Linked DNA regions of Homo sapiens: all the other regions are linked to region 2. The links are contacts of gene promoters, found by promoter capture Hi-C in blood cells and fetal thymus (Javierre and others, 2016). All regions are on one chromosome and are shown on one strand. Each heading gives the region's core, a stretch centred on a gene start or on the middle of the fragment in contact. The rest is flanking DNA. Distances are from core to core; before and after follow the strand shown. Region 1 overlaps WWC2 (WW and C2 domain containing 2). Region 2 holds the start of WWC2-AS2 (WWC2 antisense RNA 2). Region 3 overlaps WWC2 (WW and C2 domain containing 2).

Region 1 (3,827 bases), core at 1,249-3,748, 89 kb before region 2:
AATTGTCACTGTTCTAAGACTACAATTACATCTACAGGTATACATGTACTTGTGAACTCTGAAAAATTCAGAAGATTCCATTCTTAAAATTTTTAATATAAAAATTTCTTTGCAGAGTTCCTTCAAATATAAATTTAATACTTTATTTTCTATATATGGATAAATATATATACTTTCTCTGCACTCTATCAATAAGTAAAACCATTACATAGATATTTGTAAATATTAAAGTTTTAGGACTGAATTCTTATGCAAATTATAAAATATAAATAGAACAACATTCTCAGGTTCCAAACAAATTAAGTACCCAATTATGGTGCTATCCTGATAAAAAGAAAATATTACTATGACGTACTAAGAGGTAACACAAAGCAAAAAGAACTAACAGATGTATTCCAAAATTACAAACAATATAAATTAAAACAAATACAGTGAACGGAAATGTTAATTAACTTTTAAATTTCTTCCTCTTGTTGTGCACAAGGAATTTCTTACACATTCAAGCTTTCTTTGATGTTAAGTCAGTAAAAATGGATGGAGTTTGTTTTTGGTTGGTTCCCTGCAAAGGAGCAACAACAAGCAACAACAACAATAACAACAAAATCCTGAAATTAACTAGAGTCTTAATGCTGAATTCCAGAGATTACTCTTTGCTTAAAAAGGTCTTCCTTTGCACCATGCAAAGGAATTTCATATTATGAAGAAAACGGTAATTTACTGCAGCACTTTGCCAACGTTTATATGCAAAATTTAACTCTGTGTGGTATTTCTTCTCCTTGCTGGCATTATATCATTCTTTCACAGTCATTTAATATTTATTGTCAACTCAAATACATGTCCTACGACATGAGATGCCACACAGTGATGTATTTGTTCACTTCACAATTACATGATGGTGAGTACAAGCACAACTCCAAAAAAACCTGAGTTTGTACTAACTGCACTAAATGAATAAGCACTTAAAAAAAACATTTCAGGTTACTAAAACTCTTGCCACAATTCAGAGCCTCCCAAATGTACAGTTTAGCACACACATTAAAAGTCTTAACAGTTATTTTTACTTTGTAGCATCTGCTGTTCTCATTGTTTAGCTAACACAAAGCAGAGCGAATCCTGTCAACTGCTTATGATTACTACAGAATCTGCTCACAGAAACATCACTGAATTGCTCTAAGAGAACAGGGAGGAAGTAAAGATGTGTTTCACAACTTGAATTTTAAAGCAAGGATAAAGCACTAGAAATCTTTCCACAGTCCTAAAAGAATCTTCATTTATAATGATGTCAATTAGTTCCCTCGAAATAACTTTTTTTTTTTTTTTTGAGACTGAGTCTCGCTCTATCACCCAGGCCACAGTGCAGTGGCGCGATCTCGGCTCACTGCAACCTCCACCTCCCTGGTTCAAGCAATTCCCCTGCCTCAGCCTCTCGAGTAGCTGGGATTGCAGGCGCCCGCCACCACGCCTGGCTAATTTTTTTGTATTTTTAGTAGAGACGGGGTTTCACCATGTTGGCCTGACTGGTCTCAAACTCCTGACCTCAGGCAATCCACCTCCCTCAGCCTCCCAAAGTGCTAGGATTACAGGCATGAGCCACTGCGCCTGGCCAACAACTTCTATCTATCACTAGATAGGGAAACTAGCAACACAAAGAAACAAACAAAGGAAAATAGTAGAAAACAGTGGATGGAGGCAACAAGAAAAAAAATGGCTTTCAAGAAAAATTATACAAACCACTTTGGAAGATAATAATGAGATTCCTTCCCTGTGTGTGAGGAAATTAGCTTAAATGATTGGAAGGAAGTCATATTAGAGGGGCAGGCACGGTGGTTCATGCCTGTAATCTCAGCACTTTGGGAGGCCAAGGTGGACGGATCACCTGAGGTCAGGAGTTCGAGACCAGCCTGGCCAACTTGGTGAAACCCCCGTCTCTACTAAAAATACAAAAATTAGCCAGGCGTGGTGGCACATGCCTATAATCCCAGCTACTCAGGAGGCTTAGGCAGGAGAATCGCTTGAACCCGGGAGGTGGAGGTTGCAGTGAGTGAAGATCGGGCCATTGCACTCCAGCCTGGGGACAAGAGCGAGACTTCGTCTCAAAAAAAAAAAAAAAAAAAGAAAGGAGCAAGAGAGAGAGAGAGATCATATTAGATAGAGAGAGAGAGATCATATTAGATAGAATTTCTAGAAAACAAACATTAGATATCAGAATAGGTCACAATGGGCCACGTGCAGTGGCTAATACCTGTAATCCCAGCATTTTGGGATGCTGAGACAGGCAGATCACTTAAGGTCAGGAGTTCAAGACCAGCTTGGTCAACATGGTGAAAATCCATCGCTACTAAAATTACAAAAATTAGCCAGGTGTGGTGGTGGGCATCTGTAATCCCAGCTACTCGGGAGGCTGAGGCAGGAAAACTCTTGAACCTGGGAGGTGGAGGTTGTAGTGAGCCAAGATTGTGCCACTGCACTCCAGCCTGGGCGACACAGCGAGACTCTGTCTCAAAAACAAAACAAAAGAACACGTCACAATGGGGAGAATCATCTCTTCCTAAGATCATTTTTACCTAAAGACAAAAAAATAGACTTGGCAACATCTGGAGGCTCCAATCTAGCCTCACTCCCCCGTTCTTCCTGCCATGAGCCCTTTTGGGTGTCTGGCAACTTATATTACTGTTTACTAGAACAGTTACTCAATATTTTGAAAATCATTTTGTGACATACTAATTTTTTCAGAAAGGAAAGAAACTAATTTTATTAGTTGTCTATTATGTTCCAAGAATTATGCAAGGTTGTTTCATATGTTATCTCATTTAGCCCTAATAACAACCCTTCAAAATGGGTATTTCTGGTCTCTTTTTTTTTTATTTTTATGTATTTATTTATTGAGACGGAGTTTCACTCTTGTTGCCCAGGCTGGAGTGCAATGGCACGATCTTGGCTCACTGCAACCTCTGCCTCCCAGGTTCAAGTGATTCTCCTGCCTCAGCCTCCCAAGTAGCTAGGATTACAGGTATGCGCTACCACGCCCAGCTAATTTTTTTGTATTTTTAGTAGAGATGGGGTTTCTCCGTGTTGGTCAGGCTGGTCTCGAACTCCTGACCTCAGGTGATCTACCCACCTTGGCCTCCCAAAGTGCTGGGATTACAGGTGTGAGCCACCGCACCATGCCTATTATTATTATTATTATTATTATTATTATTATTTTGAGACGGAGTCTCGTTCTGTCGCCCAGGCTAGAGTGCAGTGACACAATCTCGGCTCATTGCAACCTCCGCCTCCCAGGTTCAAGCGATTCTCCTGCTCAGCCTCCTGTGTAGCTGGGACTACAGGTGCGTGCCACCATGCCCAGCTAATTTTTGTATTTTTAGTAGAGACAGGGTTTCACCATGTTGGCCAGGCGGGTCTCAAACTCCTGACCTCAGGTAATCCACCCGCCTCGGCCTCCCAAAGTGCTGAGATTACAGACGTGAGCCACTGCGCCCAGCCCCTATTCCCGTTTTTTACAGATTTAATTCTGTATGTGACACATCCAGAATTTTGTGTTTTATGTGAAACGTAAAACGTGTCACAAAATCCTGTGTTTTAGATCCTGTCTGTGTGCAGTGGGGGGATATAACAAGGAAAGGATTTGGTGCTTGCCCTGGGGAGCCAAGGTGAGGACAGCCAAGCAGATAACTAATTTGTCACCCTAGGACTTGGCCAGGAAAGCCCCTAGCCTGGTGCAATGGGTTAGGAAGGAGACTGCTGCTCCAAGATTTAAATGATTCACCCAGTGCTACAGAGCTGGCAGGAAACATAACGAGGTAGCCTAACCAAGATCACTTCTT
Region 2 (3,772 bases), core at 1,264-3,763:
AACAAAACTGACAGGAGTTAATAGTTACTCCAAATATACGTTCCCATCAGCTCTTACTCTATTTAGTAAGATTTAGTCACTTAATTGCCCTAAAAGAAAATATAATCAAATTTAAACTGAGTATATAATGGTGACTCTGATCTCAACAGAGTATCTTTTAAAACTCTGAGATCCAGAAATATTTGTAAGTCGTCAAATTTATGTCTCTGAATATTTAAGACCTAACAGCTGCAAGGAAAATTGGAAAAATAAAAAGCTATCTTAGTCAAAACTATTTGTCCCTATCCAATGAATTGTTTATCCAGTTTCCTGAAAATAGTTCATAATAATTACTAATCCATTAAGAGTTTAAAATAAAGGACATGCTTGACTTGTGAAAAAAGTAGTGATATGGATAGCCAAGTCATATAATTTCACTCCACTTTCTATTTACTTTACCCAGACATTACATATTCTTGTAATCCTTTCCGGTAAACACAACTGAGATAATATAGTAAAGCATGTAAACCGAAGAAGAGAACCTAGAATGCCTAAATATTTCAAGAATTTATTGTTATTTCAATTACCTGAAACTCCAAGTATCAGAAAGCAGAAAGAATTACCACACAACTGTAAAAGTCAAATATTTATACAGGTGCCTTAAAAGCCGCAGTTGGGTGCACACCATCAGCACTGACATTTACTATCTGTTAAGTAGTTTCAAAGTGCAATAGCATAAGTCAAATAACTGGCTTGGAGCGTGAAGTTTATGACAACAACTAGCACGTCTGGAGACACTGGGAAGGTGTGATGCCTGTCACAATTTTCATCAGGCCAGCAACAGGCAGCCAGGCTGCGGCAAGACCGAACCTCAGCACAGGTGCCTTTTCTCATTTCAGGAGGGAAACCTAGGCCCGTAGCTTCACGGATAATTGAACAAGGATTGTTCCATAAATTTATAATGTTATTTATAACTTTCTTGTAATTGCCTTTTAGTAGCTTTCAAAAACAACATTTTTAGGGCAAAAGTAACTGAGATTATAAAGTAGTTAGGTATTTCAGCTTCAAATTGAGAAAAGGGAAAATGTTAAATAGGAGAAGCACCTAAAAAGTATATAAAGCCCAAAGGGCCACATTCAATAAAGTTATAATTTTCAGAAATGACAAAAGTCCAAATGTCGAAGTTATCCCTGGTGGCACGTTATTTAAATTTACAATTAGGAATATCTCCTTAATGGATAATTTACAAATTTATAATTAGGAATACCTCCTATTATTCTTACAATAATTCTAAGAAATTTTAAGGGTAAAAAAAATATGGGACACAGAAACATTTGTGAACCTTCAGTTCCTGAACCAATTTAAAAAACAAAAAACAAAGAAACCAGGCTAAGCTCAAATCAGAGTGCCTCAATACCCAACGTTAATTTCACTACATCTCCCTTCCAAACACAATATGCCTGTTCCCGATCTGGGAGTCGGTTCAAGTTTTCAGGTGAAGACTAACGACAGACAGCGAAACCCCCAAACGCGCGTTTTTAAACTCTGAGGGGCAAAGTCAGTCACACCCACTAGCAGGGCCCGGCGGGGGGCGGGAGCCCCTTCCCAGCTCGGGACCTCCGGCCAGTCTGGGCGCCCCCGCCAAGAGCTCGCAGCCCAGGCTCCCGCGCCAAGGACGGCCTGAGGGATGCCACAGGTGGCCCGGAGGGCTCGTTCCCCAACTGGCAGTGAGGCCCTAGCCCACCCCCGCCGCCCAGAGGCCGAAGGTGTCCTGCAGCCTCCACGTGGGCACCTCGAAGCCTAGGGAAGTTCCTAACAGGGCTCAGGTGGCCCCTCGGGTCCGTTAGCCTGGCGCGCGGCGTCGGCCCGGGGCAGCGACTCCAGCCTTGCCTCGGGGCCGGGTCCCCGGAGGGGCGTCGGGAAGCCGGTGGGCGGAGGAGCCCGGGTACGGGCGGCTCCTCGGCCCCGCCGGAGCAGCCAGCCCCACATCCCTCCCGGGACCCCTCGGGGCACCGCGGGCCGGCGCCGCCCCAGCCCCCCGCGCGGCCGGGTCTCCGGGACAACAGCCGCCGTGTCCGAACGGGCCCGCGCCCCCGCGGCCGGCGCCCACCTGTCCCGGGGGTCGATCCAGCTGGTCCTCCTGGTGTTGTGGTCAATGTAGAAGACCTTGCCGTCGTAGTCCCTGGCCTCCTCCCAGCCCCGGGGCAGCGGCAGCTGACCGCTCCCGGCCCTCCTAGGCATGGTCGGCGGCCTCGCCGGCGAGCGGCGCCTCCATAGGTACCGGGCGCGGGACGCGGCGGGAACGCGGCTGCCGGGCTAGGCTGCCAACCCGCGACGCGGGCGCCGGCGAGGGGCTGAGGGGCGCAGGGCGCGGGGCGCGGCGGAACCACGCGCGGGAGGTGCCTCAGGAAACGCTGTTCGCGGCCCCGCTGCGGATCAGTCCACCATGTCTGCGTCGGAGCCGGCGAGCGAACCCTCCTCCCCCTCGCCGCCGCTGCCTCCGCCTCTTCCTCCTCCTCCGCCCCGTCCCCCTCTGGCCGCCGAGGGTCGCGGCGCCCAGGCTGCCGGAGCCGCCGCCGTCTGGGCTCGGATCCGGGAAGCTGCGGCGCTGCCGCGGCAGCGGCGGGCCCCTCATTTGCATGCGATTAGCATGCGCCCGCCCGCCTCATCTGCATGCGCATTCCTCGCGCCGCATTCCTGAGCTTAACCCCGCCGCTGCCGGCGTCGCCGCACCAGCTCGGACGCACTGCCCCGCGGGGCCGCGGCTCCAGGTGGGAGGAAGGCGGGCGAAGGAATGTGCGGCCAGCTCCCTCCCCTTGACCCCAGATAGCTCCCCTGGGCCAAACGCCGAGAGGTTTTAGAGTTTCTGGACGGGGAAGATTGCAAAAGTCTCCGCAACCTTCTCAACCTCTTTCGTCTTCTAGGGAAACCACAAAACTTTCGAGAGGAAAGGGGTGGCGGGCGGGGAGCTCTCCTCCGGAGAAAAAACCTCAACAAGCGGAGAGGGCACAAAGGCTCCCCACGCCGCGCCCCGAGCCCCTCCGGCACCCCAAGGGCGGTCCGGGGTGGTGGGAAAGCGCCAAGCCCTGGGAGTGCGTCGGTGGGTCCGGGACGGCGGGGCCTCCGCCAGGGCTCCTGGCCCTCGATGACCTCGGCTGAGACCGCGAGCCGCGCGGCGGAAAGCGGAGGAACTCCCGTCCGGCCCTGTAGCCGCCCGCACCGCGCCCCGTCACCCGCCGCCCCTTCGCGTCCGGGCGCTCCAGCCGCGGGGCCCCGGAAGCTCCTGGTCCCTGGCCTCCCCTGCTTGGTTCGGGGCGGTTGGCCGTGGACGCGCCCCGACTCTAGTCCCTTCCGTCCAGCCGCCCGCCCCAGGATGTCCCCCCACCGCAGCCCCGCCGTGGCCAGGAGGTGTGGGCGGCCACGCCGGAGGGACCCACGGCGGCGCCGGACGCCCGCCCTTCCTAGGCCCTGGCCCGGCCGGGGTGGGCCGGGACGTTCCCTGTTGCATAGGCATTTATTTATTCAGCAGCTACTACGTACGTGCTGGCCCGCACTGCCGAGGGACCGGACGCCTGCCCCAGGCGGGACAATGCCGGGTGCAGCGCTGGCGGGGCCTGGACGCCAAGCTTCAGGGTCCCCAGCCCCTCAGTCAGAGGGGGCGCCTCCCAGGCCCTGGACTCCTCTCCAGCCGGGTCTACACCACCGTCCCCCGTCATCTTCTTCTGGGTTACTGAGCAGCTTCTTTTAAAATAGCAACACCGAGGAAGGCCCCGAAGCCCAGTCTTGCACCTCG
Region 3 (3,865 bases), core at 920-3,419, 110 kb before region 2:
CACTGTACTTACAGCTTGTGTGAGAACTTGACTTTTCCTTATAGGCATCATTTAATCGCACGTATTCATCCAGGGCCAGCGCCAGCCTCTGCTCCTTCACATGGTACAGTTCCTTCTGTGTCCGGAGGGCATCCTGTGCCACAGAGAGGTAGTCCTTGAGCATCTTCTCCTGTTCCCCCCTCCATTGTTTTCTTGGATCTTCTATCTGCGTGGTTTCTGAAAACATTAGGTGGAGGGTACTTTTTAGAATTTAACTTTGTTTTCCGGCTTGTTTAAGCTTTAGGGAGTAGGCTAGCTTAAGTTCTTGTATCCTCTAAGGAGTTTATTTAGCTGTGCTGGAGTGACTTCTCCAGAAATTTTAGTTTTATTTTACCCAGTCTCATCAACTTCCTTCCTCTTCCAGGTTCTGATCAACAGTGTATTCTCACTATAAATCTACCACACACAATGTTGTCAATCAGATCATTCAAGAATTCTGTGGCTCCCCAGTGCCTACAGAATAAAAGCCAAGCTATTCATTCCAGCACTCAATGCCCTGCATAAGCTGGACCCAACCCACCTTCATTCACCTAATACAGGACTGTAGACACACTGCCCTCTGCATCAGCACTAATCAAAGTTGGTCTACTCTGCAGACCAACACCAGTCCATGAACTCAGTTTTATGTCCGCAACAGTAATGACAGAAATAGAAAACATTTTGTAATCATTATAGCGATTTTAGTCAGTTATTGTTTATCTGTTGATAAATACTATGCATTTCTTTGTGTGTATACATTTTCACTTTTCCAGTAATTCACTTTTTCTTGTATTTTACAAAAATATCAGTGAGTCCGCAGTGGATCTGAAATTTAAAAATAAACAAACAAACAGAACCCTGGTCCTGTTTATACAGAATGCTCTAGCCTAAGGCCCTGGTTCTTGCTTCTGCACTTCCACAAACTACAATCAACCAGAGACCCTTTTAAAAAAAAAAAACCCAGACCAACTAGAGTTTCTGTGGATGCAACCCAGGCACGGTAGATTTCAAAGCTGCTCAGGTGATTCCATTGAGCAGCCGAGCCCAAGAACCAGTGTTCTGCAACAGCATTCACATGCTGCCTCCTCCAGAAGGTGCCCCAGCCACCTCATCTGCAAGTCAGCCCTTTATCCTCTGTCTTCCATGGCAGCTTATGCTCAGTTTATAAACTCCAAACACATTCTTTACTGTGTGGTGAAGCTACAGTAGGGGCCACAAAACATGAAGAAAAACAAAAATGAAAGAATCAGATTACCCTAAACATTTTATGTTCTCACATTTTAAAATTAACATATTTTTTGACCACATGTTGGGCCAAGGAGTTGGAGTGTACTGCTGTCCAGCATTGGGATACCATGGTGTATACAAGAGAACGGACAGTTTTGGTGATGGTTAGTGCAGGCTGGTTAAGAGCTATCCCCCTGTGTCTGCAGACATGTACTGGACCCCTCTGCTGTGAAAGAAAGGAGAGTGGCCATTTGCCAGTAGAGGAAGGGGTTGAGAATGGGACAGAGTAAATAAAAGAGGTTTCCTGGATGCTGATGTTCTATTTCTTTCACCCATCGAAATTACACAGTTCACTTCTAAAATATTTGTTAAACTATGTTATTTCAGTCTATGCACTTTTCTGTGTGTAGTATTCAGTAATACATGTTTTAAAATAAAAGTGGAATAGTTCAAAGGCATAAAAACTATGGTATTGTGACTTAAGATCTCGTCTCTAGCAGGATATTGTATCCGAGTGGACCCCACTCCCAACAACAGCAAACACAAACAGGGGATAATTTGGGACAAAAAGAAGTATGGCTTTAATACAGAAAACACATGAAGCTTGATACACAAAAGGTTAATAGAGATTTTTAAAAAACAAAGCAAAACACAAAGAAGGCCATGGTGGAATAACAGGGCCACTGTAACTAGAAGATAAAATATATGAACAATGGTTTTCAGATGTTGGACAACAGGTAGTACAGGATTGTGATCTCTGAGAGAAGGGAAATGAACCCCACGATTACCCTACATTTCTGTCTGAAAGCACTTTTTGGACAGCAGTGCAAAGAGGGGTAACTCAAGCAGAGAAAGGAGGCACTGCTGAATTGCAGGGAGAGGGAAGCAGATTTCACGGAAGCCATGACAGGTGGAATTTGTAAAGCAAAGCACAGTAGAAGCTCCAGAGACTGGAGAAGTTCCAGAAATTTGCACAGGGGTCACAAGAAGTCTGTGAGTGAATGCTGAGATGACAACGGGAAATGCACAAGGCCAGGCAAAGGACAACTGGGACGCTATAGGCAGATAAATTCCCCGAGCTCACACAGGGCTGTGACAGTTTCAAATTATGACCAGCCAGAGGAGAAAGGCCACAGTGAACATCTAGGGAATCCAGTGGAGACCACAGCAAAGTTACACCTTAACAACAGAGCTAAATAAGACATAGGGTAAAGGCTACTCTGAACCTAACCTAACAAAGCTTTGAAACAAGCTTCTAAAAGACCAAGCTGGTCAGCAAGTAACTTAACTGCCGGTCAGAAGAAAAAAAATATAAAACTCCCTAAAAGGCACAAAACCTAGCACTCAATGAAAACAACAACAACAAAACCAACTTTATAATGTCTAGCATCCACTATAATGTTACCAACATAAAAAGCACAAAAATATGGCCCATAATCTGGAGAAAAATCAGTCAATAGAAACAGATCTCGAAATGTAGAAAGGATGGAATAAGCATAATCTAGATAAAACAGCTATGTTGCAACAGAATAGAGTCCAAAAATAAACCTGCACATCTACTGACTATTGTGCAAATAGCCAGTAAGCAGATGAAAGGAGACTCAACATCACTAATTATCAGCGAAATACAAGTCAAAACTATAATGGGATACCATTGCTCACTATGTAAAATGGCTAGAATTTAAAAACTGGCAATGCCAAGTGTTGAAGAGGATGTGGTGCAATTGGAATTCTCATTCATTGCTACCGGGAATCTAAAATGGTCCAATCACTTTGGAGAACAACTTAGCAATTACCATACAACCTAGCAATCCTACAACTTGTTATTTACCCAAGAGATATGAAAATATGTATCTACAAAAAGACCTCTAAACAAATGCTCATTAGCAGCTTTATTCATAATAGACAAAACTATTACAGGTAATGGCTAAGCAAACTGTGGTATATCCATACAATAAAATACTACTCAGCAATAAAATGAAACAAAATACTCAACAGCAATATATAAGACTCTCAAACACATGTTGAGTGAAAAGATGCCAGACACAAAAGACCACATGCTGTATGATTCCATTTATATGAAATTCGGGCAAAAGTAAAGCCAATCCAATGACAGAAAGTGATTGCCTGGGCCCAGCAGTACTGAGAAGTACTTGTTACAACAGAGCAAGAAGAAAGCTCTTTTTGAGGGGATGGAAATGTTCCCTATCTTGATTATTGTGATAGTTACATGGTATACACCTGTCAAAACTCATGAATTGTATAGTGAAAATAGATGCAATTTATGTATTTGTATATAATAATAAAGCTGATTTACAGTTTATTATTAAAATATGCTTTACAAGGTTCAAATGAATGACTGATGATGACTGATAAAGAGAAATGAGGTATAATGGAACAGCAATAAAATCCTTTGCCACTACCAGCTGTTGAAAAGAGCACTGGTTAGGGAGTAAGGCCGTGTGGGTTCCATATCCACCTAGCCAGATGTGAGACTCTAAGTATTTTACCTCTCTTACTCTCATGTCTCTCGATTGTAAAAAGAGGCTGAAATATGGACGAATATTTTCTGATGCAGCCTTTGTAGCAGACACTGTTGGTGTCCTATCCTGGTATTCTC

Evidence for each region. Contacts are between HindIII fragments. The CHiCAGO score rates a contact against its expected background, and 5 or more counts as called.
Region 1: a fragment that was not itself captured here is called in contact with the fragment with the promoter of WWC2-AS2 in region 2 in 1 of 17 cell types (endothelial precursors); the score reaches 5.3 in endothelial precursors.
Region 3: a fragment that was not itself captured here is called in contact with the fragment with the promoter of WWC2-AS2 in region 2 in 3 of 17 cell types (endothelial precursors, erythroblasts and megakaryocytes); the score reaches 8.4 in endothelial precursors.

The regions. Positions count from the first base shown.
Region 1 is chr4:183,186,931-183,190,757 of GRCh38, reverse strand. The region is part of intron 1 of WWC2 (WW and C2 domain containing 2); the gene reads right to left. Among named protein-coding and RNA genes, the nearest start is that of WWC2-AS1, 52 kb to the left of the region's middle. The HindIII fragment of the contact is 3,983 bases long and covers 507-3,827 here.
Region 2 is chr4:183,097,940-183,101,711 of GRCh38, reverse strand. WWC2-AS2 (WWC2 antisense RNA 2) reads left to right here and starts at 2,513. Exons shown (of 1, transcript NR_024008.1): 1 at 2,513-3,772. It overlaps WWC2 (WW and C2 domain containing 2), which reads right to left and starts at 2,455. Exons shown (of 23, transcript NM_024949.6): 1 at 2,090-2,455. The coding sequence starts at 2,220. RefSeq lists a silencer at 3,402-3,696 and an enhancer at 3,402-3,696. The HindIII fragment of the contact is 3,980 bases long and covers 1-3,607 here.
Region 3 is chr4:183,204,304-183,208,168 of GRCh38, reverse strand. It overlaps WWC2 (WW and C2 domain containing 2), which reads right to left. Exons shown (of 23, transcript NM_024949.6): 3 at 13-216. Among named protein-coding and RNA genes, the nearest start is that of WWC2-AS1, 34 kb to the left of the region's middle. The HindIII fragment of the contact is 637 bases long and covers 1,851-2,487 here.